2 separate regions of the Homo sapiens genome follow, and region 2 is linked to region 1. The links are contacts of gene promoters, found by promoter capture Hi-C in human tissues and cell types (Jung and others, 2019). All regions are on one chromosome and are shown on one strand. Each heading gives the region's core, a stretch centred on a gene start or on the middle of the fragment in contact. The rest is flanking DNA. Distances are from core to core; before and after follow the strand shown.

The links. The method cuts DNA at HindIII sites, captures the fragments that hold promoters and counts their contacts. A contact is called where the count stands out against the background at its distance.
Region 2: a fragment that was not itself captured here is called in contact with the fragment with the promoter of SLC25A48 in region 1 in 2 of the 25 tissues and cell types used here (IMR-90 fibroblasts and lymphoblastoid cells).

What each region holds. Positions count from the first base shown.
Region 1 is chr5:135,832,818-135,837,332 of GRCh38, reverse strand. SLC25A48 (solute carrier family 25 member 48) reads right to left here and starts at 2,670. Exons shown (of 8, transcript NM_001349336.2): 1 at 2,440-2,670. The coding sequence starts at 2,485. RefSeq lists an enhancer at 3,204-3,705. The HindIII fragment of the contact is 4,672 bases long and covers 723-4,515 here.
Region 2 is chr5:136,228,985-136,233,499 of GRCh38, reverse strand. It overlaps TRPC7 (transient receptor potential cation channel subfamily C member 7), which reads left to right. Exons shown (of 12, transcript NM_020389.3): 8 at 1,951-2,146. The region is part of intron 1 of TRPC7-AS2 (TRPC7 antisense RNA 2); the gene reads right to left. Among named protein-coding and RNA genes, the nearest start is that of TRPC7-AS2, 4.6 kb to the right of the region's middle. The HindIII fragment of the contact is 4,556 bases long and covers 1-4,292 here.

The sequences.
Region 1 (4,515 bases), core at 1,421-3,920:
CAGAACAATGATTCCCTGGGTCCAGAACCACCTGTCCCCTCTTATCCCCTCCTACCTACTAAACTGGGCAGAGGCAGAGAGGTGATGGCAGTAATTAACCCTTCCCAGTAGTGGGGGGAGGTGCGCTGGTCCTCAGGCTCCATGGCTTCCCCCATAGTGAGTGCACACATCCTTCAGCTCAGGGCAGGCTTAGATCCAGCCTTGGGCCAACATCTCCCTGCCACTTATTAGCCCACCCATCTGAAAGCAGGGGATTTGAGATTTAAAAAAATGGGATTATAAGGTCAGTGATTTCCAGACCTTGGCACTTCACAAACCAGTAAAATCTCAAACAAAATGTGTGTGTGTGTGGGGGGGGGGGGTGGGGGGGGGGATAATATCAAAAAAAGGGCAAAATTTTGTTATGCAAGGTTGTTCAGAAAGAGTTAAGATGAAATTAAGATGGCAGATTCTGGTGCCAGGCAGCCTGGGTTGGAATCCTGGTGCCAATGCTAGATGCATGGTCTTAGGCAAGTCAGTGAATTTCTCTGTATCTCAGTTTCCTCATCTGTAAAATAAGGATGCAACGGTACCTACCTCTTTGGGGTTGTTATAATAATTAAAGAACTATACATAAACTGACACAAGAGATCACATATTGCAAGATTCAATTGACATAACATATACAGGAAAGGCAAATTTACAGAAAGGAGATTAAGGAGAGGGAACAGCATTCAACTTCAAATGAGGGATCTTACTGGGGGATGAAAATGTTCTAAAACAAATTTATGGTGATGGTTGCACCTCTTTGTAAAATTACTAAAAGACATTGAATTGTACATTTGAAATGGGTGAATTTTATAATACATAAAATAAACCTTGATAAAATTGTTTTAAAAGAATACATATAGCACTTAAACTATACCTGGCACCTAGTAAGTATTCAAGTGTAGTAAACACTTACCATCATTTCATGGAAGCCAAAAAAAAAAAAAGCCATGTTATTAGTTTGGTGCAAAAGTAATTGCGATTTTTGCCATTACTTTCAATAACATCACCAAAGTAAGGACCAGAATAAAGCACAAAAATCCCCTACTTGCTGTGAGTCGGGGAGGGTTCACATGTTATCACGTTTGGGGATGGGGAGGGGTATCAGAGTCTTGGAACTACTCTGACTCAGCCCTACCTTCCAGGGCATTTTTCAAACCAAGCCATTTGCATCCCTACCGAAGGTGGTCTGCTTATTTAAGGGGCAGCCCACGGAAGTGTCTCCTCTCTCTGCCTGCCCCGCTGAATGGTGGAATAATTGTCCAGTCAAAAAGGACCTGGATATGCCCAGCGGGCCTCAGGCTGCAGCCCCCTAACTGGGAAAGTTAGGAGAGGCGGGTCTCAGCCCCACCCAAGGGCATCTGTGCCAACAGACTTACTCAAGGTGAAAGGAGCCACCTCTGCTCAGGAAGGTGTGAAGCAGGGCCCTGCAGCCACCGGTCTCGGGAGAGAGGTGGTCTCCTGCTAGGTAGGAGGGGAGGAGTTGGGATCCAATCTGGTTTGTTGTTCTTTTCATCTTATTTTTTCACCCCTTTGGTGAGGGGCTACATTTGCCAACATCCCTTTTAGGATAACCCTTTTAGATGGGTCCAAAGAAAGACTTTTTTTTTTTTTTTTTTTTTTTTTTACAATTAGCAAAGTCCCTCAAACTTCCCCCTTTCCTAATAGCTGAGAAAAGAGGGATAGACCAATTGGAAAGAAAAATGGAGAAGCAAGGAAATGAATGCAACTCTCGCCCAGGCAACCCATCCCAGGCCCAGTAAAAGAGTGGCTTCGGGAGCTGTGGCGAAGGGATCAGCAGACCCAACAGTGCCCGGAGAAGGGGCCTTGGAGGTAGGCGATGGCTGACGGTTGGCGGCGGCTGAAGGCAATAAGTGCTCCTCGCAGCCTGGCAATGGGCACCTGCAGCCGGCGCTCCGCTCCCTGCTGTGAGAGCTCTGCTCCCTCCAGTCGGGACGCCCCGTTGGGCCGGCCTAATCTCGAAGCCTGGCTCCCACCACCCTGCGCCCCGGGATCAGCAGCCAAGCGCTACCCTCATACATAAGTTCCCGCGAGCCACGTCCGCAATTCAGGTGTGCACCAGGTCACTGAAGGGTGTGTGCGCCGCCAGGAGCCTCCATTGGCTGTGGGCTTTGACGAGCTGTTTAATCATTACCTCATCAAGTCCCACGGATCCTAACTTAATGAGCAAATCAGAAGCTCAGCCCGAAACGCTGTGAAGCTCTCAGAATTTAGCCCTGGCAACTGCAAGACCACCAGGGGGATCTCGGGGCCGGGCACTCCCCAAAGCAGGCTGCGCGCACAACGGGGAGCGGGATGGCAGCGCACAGAGGCAAAGTTTCCTCAGAGCATAGAGGCAAACTCCGCCAGGCTCGCTCTCTCTGACCGGGGGTCCCCGGTAAGCACACTCACCTCCGATCCAGCCCGCCGCAAAGTCTTCCAGCTGGAAGCTTCCCATGGCCGGCGCTCGGTCTCGCCCTCCCGGAGCCGGGGCAGTGCCCACTTAGAGTCAGTGGGGCATGGCCCGCGGGCGCGAGCGCGCCGCAAGACCGAAGTCGGAGTCTCGAGCACGCCGCAGGTCCTACTCCAAACCCAGTCCCCCAGTCACCGGCTGCGCGGGCTGCCGCGCTCACCTCTCCAAGTGCCGGAGGGCGGCTGACATCACGCCCCCAGTGGACCTTAAAGGCACAGCACTCTGGGTGGATAAGGGTGCGCTCCGCGCGGCTCATCCCAGACACAAAGAGGCAAGGGTCATCAAGTGAAATTCTCTTAGTCCTCCCTTCTCCGGGTTATCCTCTTCCTTGCCAACTTCAGAGCCTCAGCGCCTTTGAACTGAAAGTGCCAGCCGCCCATCCAGAGACGGCAATGCGCGTATCTCCCTGTACTGTGCTGTGCTGACAATGCTGATTCCAATCAGCTGTGGACTCTCTCCCATCCCAACTCTGGGCAGTGATGCCTTTTTGTTCATCTCAGCCATGTCCCACTCAGTACCCCGTGCCTAGAGCAGGCACCTGGTGGTTCAGGGTCATGTCTAACTTTCAGCTACAGCTCTCTAGGGGCCCAGCTCCCTGCCTGGCCCTGGCTCACCCTACACTGTCCGCCCTGGGCCAACAGAAGGCAGAGGTGGTGCTCTGTACCTCAAACTCCCTCTCTGTAGGCAGACCCTACATTCAGCCAGGCCCCAGGCCAGGGGTCCGTGCTCACTGGAGAAGTGGCCTGCTGTGCGGAGAGGCTTTTGATTACAATGAGAGTGTCTTTCCTCCCTTCCTAAGAAGACTCGAAGCCCCCCAGCGTTCTGCTAGTTTCCAGCAGGGACTCAGCTGTGGGTCTCAGCCAAGACACCCCAAGGTTGACAAGAATGGTGAAGGGTATGGTCAGGAGGAAGGGGCCTCTGCTGGGCCTGCTCTTGTCCCACTGGGCATATTCATGTCACGTCATCCAGGTTAATATGAAGCGACAGCCAGCCAGACCTCCTTCTTCCAAAGCAAGACAGAGCCTGACCACCGAAGCTTGATCCTACAAAGGCCTGTCCACTGAGGAGTGGGGACTTGGAGGTGAAGGGACCTTCCTGCAGCATCACTCCCTCCCCTGCCCCGGCACACAGAGAGTGGACCTGTATCGGGAGAGGACAGCCCGGGATGGAGTCGCCGGCCTGGCTAGGGAAGTATTGCAAAGTTCCAGGGAGGAGTGGAAGCATCACACCCCATCCCGGCACCTCAACTTCCTGCTGCTTATGGTGACCCACTCAGTCTTGAGGCTTCAGAGTTGCCATCAGCATCAACCCCAAGCTGTGCCCTGTCATGCCCGGGATATATGCCTAGGGCTGCTATGAGAAATGCAGGTCTCTGAAGAGTGGCCTTTTACTGAGTTCACCATTGGAATGCATCCACAAGTGGAAAGCCTGACAATTCTCAAAACCCACTCCTCTGGAAGACCACCTAAGGGGTGCCAGGCAGTTTGTCATCCCCTCAGTCCTGTGTCAGCACCAATTGAGGAGGTCTTACGTTGGCAGGCAGTGTCCCTGGCAGCCCAGGATGGCCTCCCAGGCCCAGAAAGCTGCTGCTTGAACTACTAACGAGCTGGAGCAGAGCAGGAGTGGGTTGCTTTCCAAAATGAATTACTGTGCTCCATTCCCATATGCATGCCACAAACCTGCCCATGGGGCGCATCACCCAGGGAAGTGAGGGGAGGACCCTAGGTTTACCAGCAACCATGGCCAGGCCTGGAGAATCCCAGACCACAGGGCTATGAGCCCAGGCAGAATGCTGGCTCTGTGGCCAGGATCCAGGCCATCCCTTCTTCCTGGCCTTCGCACTTCAGAGCACCATTTGCAGTGTGCTGCCATTCACATTTGCATTCTACACTCGGGAGAGGGCAGGGCAGCTACTGGCCATTACAGAGAGAAAGAAACTCCACAGAGATCCACTCCCTGCATGACTAGGGCCAGAAAGCAACCCCATTTTCTTTCTCCCTCAGTTCCTTCCCCAA
Region 2 (4,515 bases), core at 765-3,264, 400 kb before region 1:
TTGAAATCTCTCTGCCACTGTTCCCTTCCACGAGTGTGATAACTGAAAGATTGTTCATAATGGGACACAGTACTGCAGTGAATCATGACACAGGGTGGATGACATCTTTTTCACACAAAATGCTGCATCTCACATGAGGAAAACAGTTCTCCCCCCTTCCAGAATAGCACCAGGAGCTGGAGCTCTGCAATAATGGCTTAATACCCTGTCGTTGCTTATAAACACCCAACTAAATTATTTCTCGCTAATGCTAAAATGAATTAAATGTTTCAAAATCACAGTTTTAAAAGAAACTAAAAACAAACACTGACAATAGAATCCCACTTCAAATATCAGTTTTTCAGACTCTGAAGAGTGTGCATAGGGAATGAGCCAAACAGCTGGGTAGACACACACACATGCACACGCACACACAGATACACATACACCCCCACACAATCACACTCGGGAGAGCTGTAAATTCATGCGAGTCAAGAGTTGGATTTTTAGCCCAAGTGACGAGTACCAGTATTTTTGTACATCTTGTCAAATAAATACCAATCCTTGAGAAATGCTGATATTTTTAAAGATCTAGCTAATCCTGGCCATTTGTGGGTGAGTGTTGAAAACCTGAAATGTTAAAGAGGAAAAAAAAAAGTGCTTTCTTACAGTGGTACCAAAAATCTGGATGAAAACTAAAAGAACTGCACTTAACCATTCAGATGTTACCAGATATACATGCATGGTCTAAACCTCCCAACCAAAATCCAGCTTTCTTATTCGATTCTAGGTCATCAGCCTGATACAGTGTCATGCCCATAGAGTATGGACTACGAAATGCACTTGGGTCTTATTCATAACACTACTGTATTTCAGTTACTTCGTAGTCTCAAAAGGGCCAAAGAGCAGTGTCGTTAAAGCTGAGACTAACCTGAACTGCCTTCAAGGCACATGCAGCATCTAACCTAAGTGAGCCGTAGGGTGAGGTTTGGGCAATCACCTGGTGATTTTGAACCATGTGGGCACACCAAAATCCCCACTCTCATTCTTGATAATTCAGCCCCAGTTTAGAAAGCTTAATACATGTGGCTAGCCTCAGCTCTGTAACAGGAGGTCATATGAGAGCCCGCCACAGAGCTGGTCATGAGGCTTAAGTGAGCTGCTCTTTGTCGAGTGCCTAGAAGTGTCAGACTCCAGGGATGCCATCCTCCTGTGTGGACACTGCCCACTTTCCAGGTGTCTGCCATCACTCCCCTTCACGTGGGCTGTGGAGTCTGAGAAGAAATGGTTAGGGCTTAATGGAAGGAAGAATGCACTTTCTGGGGCTCATAATGCACAAGAACAAACATTTACCCAGGTGTTTAATTTTAAATGTTTAAGTTAATTACAGTAAGAGAAAAGTGATACCACAGCCAGGAGTCCCAATAAATGGATTGAATAAAAAATAAAGAGCTTGCCATTTTTAATATTCTTTCAAAGTCTTCTTAGAAATCTGAATATCACATTATCTCAGAATGCAGGCATCACCAACCAGCCCAGCCCCACTCCAGGGTAACAACTGGGCACTCCAGGGTAAAGCATGACCAATGGCAACTTTCATTTTAAAAGTTCAAGCTGGCCAGATGCAGTGGCTTACATCTGTCATCCCAGCACTGTGGGAGGCTAAGATGGGATGATACCTTGAGCCCAGGAGTTCAAGACCAGCCTGGGCGACATAGTGGGATCCTATCCCTACAAAAAATGAAACAATTAGCCAGGTGCGGTGGTGCACAGCTGTAGTCCCACCTACTCAGGAGGCTAAGGCAGGAGAATTGCTTGAGTCCAGGAGGTCAGGGCTAGAGTGAGCCATGATTGAGCCACTGCACTCCAGCCTAGGCAACAGAGTGAGACCCTGTCTCAAGATAAATGAATGAATAAATAAAAGTTCAAGCTGATGCAAACTGCGTAAAAGGACCGTCTGTTTCTTTGCAGGGTTGAAGAAAGTTTTAAAACTTTGTTTTGGTCCATATTCGGCTTATCTGAAGTAATCTCAGTGGTGCTGAAATACGACCACAAATTCATCGAGAACATTGGCTACGTTCTCTACGGCGTTTATAACGTCACCATGGTGGTAGTGTTGCTCAACATGCTAATAGCCATGATAAACAACTCCTATCAGGAAATTGAGGTAAGGCCAGGTCACTGAAAATGCTTGCTCTCCTTCATCTAATTTACATTGCTTTTTTCAGCAATGAGGGGAATGATGTTAGAAGCCCATGTGTTGTTAAATGTGCAGCCAGAACAGCAAAGAACAGGCATTCTTCCTGGATTGCTTCTAGAAATAGAAGCAGTCAAAGTCAGTCTGCCCCATGGCATTGCTGGTACCACCATGAGGCCCAGCGAGAGCAGAAAGAACTGGGGTCATGAGTCTTCTCTCTTTTACACTTGTCTTCTCAGGACCTCGTGCAGATGACCCATGGCAATCAATCAGAATGACTTTCAGCCCCCAGGCCCCTTTCGCCTCTCACGTGTTATTTATTAAGTACCTACTGTATGCCAAATCCGCACTAGGCACTGGTGATACCAAGATGACTAAGACACAGTTCCTGCCTAGAGAAACTCATAGTCCAGTGAGGAGATCATACAGGGCAATCAACAAATTCCAATGCCCTGGGGCCAGTGCAACCAGGTTGTGGGGAGTGGTGTGGGGACAGAGACAGAGATTGACTATGGGGGAAGCTTCCAGAGGTGATGCTGGAAGGCCATTTAAAAACAGAACAATTTTGCCTGACAGATAAAGGGGTTGAGAGAATGTATCAGGAAGCAATTTATCAAAATCTAAAAGGCATGAACCATAAGCTATTGATTGCAGCTTGTTTGGAACAGCAAGAAATTAAAAACAAACTGAGCATTAATAGGAATCTAATTAAATAGACTACGATGCATCTGAAAAATGGGATGCTGTGCAATTCTATTTTAAGAAGGATAAATATGTTCTGTATATGCTGATGGGGAAAGACCTTCAAGTTACAGTGGTAGGAGGTAAAAATCAAGTTCCAGAACAATGTATATAGTGGGCTCTCTCTTGTGTAAGAGAGAAAGAAAAGGGAATGTGATTCATTTGTGATTGTATAAGCAAATGAAAAGAACAAACCTCTGAAAGGTCCACAAGAAAGACACCACGGGGTGCCTGTTGAGAGGTGGGAATAGGGGGCATGGTGGGTGGAATTCCTTTTTCTTTATACTTTTTATCCTTTATAAATCATGTTGTTGCTTTACCTTCTACATGATTAAATAAATAAGCTAAAGTTAAAATAAAAAGCACTGACCTATTGACTCAACAATTCCAATTCTGGGAATAGATCCAATATCATTTTACGTAGATGTTCGTTAAAGGAAAAACCTGGAAATAGTCCATTGATATGAGAATGTTTAAATAAACTGTGATATAGTCACACTTTAGAATAAGGTGTAGGATACTGTACATCCAGCATGAGAAAGACTGTTTTGTACTGACATGGGAAAATCCCTAACACATTATTAAGTGAAAAAATGCAAGTTATAGAAAAATACAAATAGGGGAATCTAATCTATGTAACAGTACAAATGCAAACATAGAGAAGAACTCCAAGGAGGCTACAGGGCTTTTGACCGGGCGTCCTCTGGGGAAGGGAATAAAAGGAGAGAAGATCTGAAATGGGACTTTCACATTTCCTGGTGCACCTCTGTCCTTAAATTATAAGAAACAATTGTTTATATACTTCTTATATAGAAAAAGTAAAGATCCCTGTGTATTAACTTGCTAGGGCTTTCCTAAAAAATACCACAGACTGTGTGGCTTAAACATTAGAAGTTTCTTCCCTCACAGTTCTAGAGGCCACAAGTCCAAGATCAACATCAGCAGGGTTGGCTCCTTCTGAGCCTCTCTGCTTGGCTTGCAGATGTCCACCTTCTTGCTGTGTCCTCACACAGCCTTGCCACCAGTCCAAGAAGATCGGGGCCCCATCCTCGTGACCTCATTTAACTTCAGTCACCTTTTAAAGGCTCCATCTCCAAATAGAAGCAAGTCACCTTCTAACTTGCTGGGGGTTAGGGCTTCTACATAGGAATTTAAGGGGGACACAATTCAGTCTATGATACCCTCCCCAAAAAAGAGTACTCTATGCAGTAGGGAGCACATGTACCAAGGCAGGGAGGGGTGAAGCAGTGTGGTATGCTCAGCGCTGCAAGAGCATAGATTGAGCGAGGAAAAAAGGCAAGAGGTGAGAGGAAGAGGTGAGCCTGGCCATGAAGCCTCAGCTGCTGCCCTCCAGAAAAATACAGCACATTGTGGATGGACAAACAACACATATATTTTTAAAGCATTTTACATACTTAATCACCAGTGTGGATAATGAGCTCTTGTCCACTAGTCCTTCCTGCCCTTCTGGGCCTCAGTTTCCCCATGTGTAAGAGAAAACCAGATGGTGCCTGGAAAAGCTGCAGGTCTCTGCACCACTCCCCCCGGCAATCTGCCATATCCTAACAGGCATGTAATGCTTTAGTTGAAATGACAGT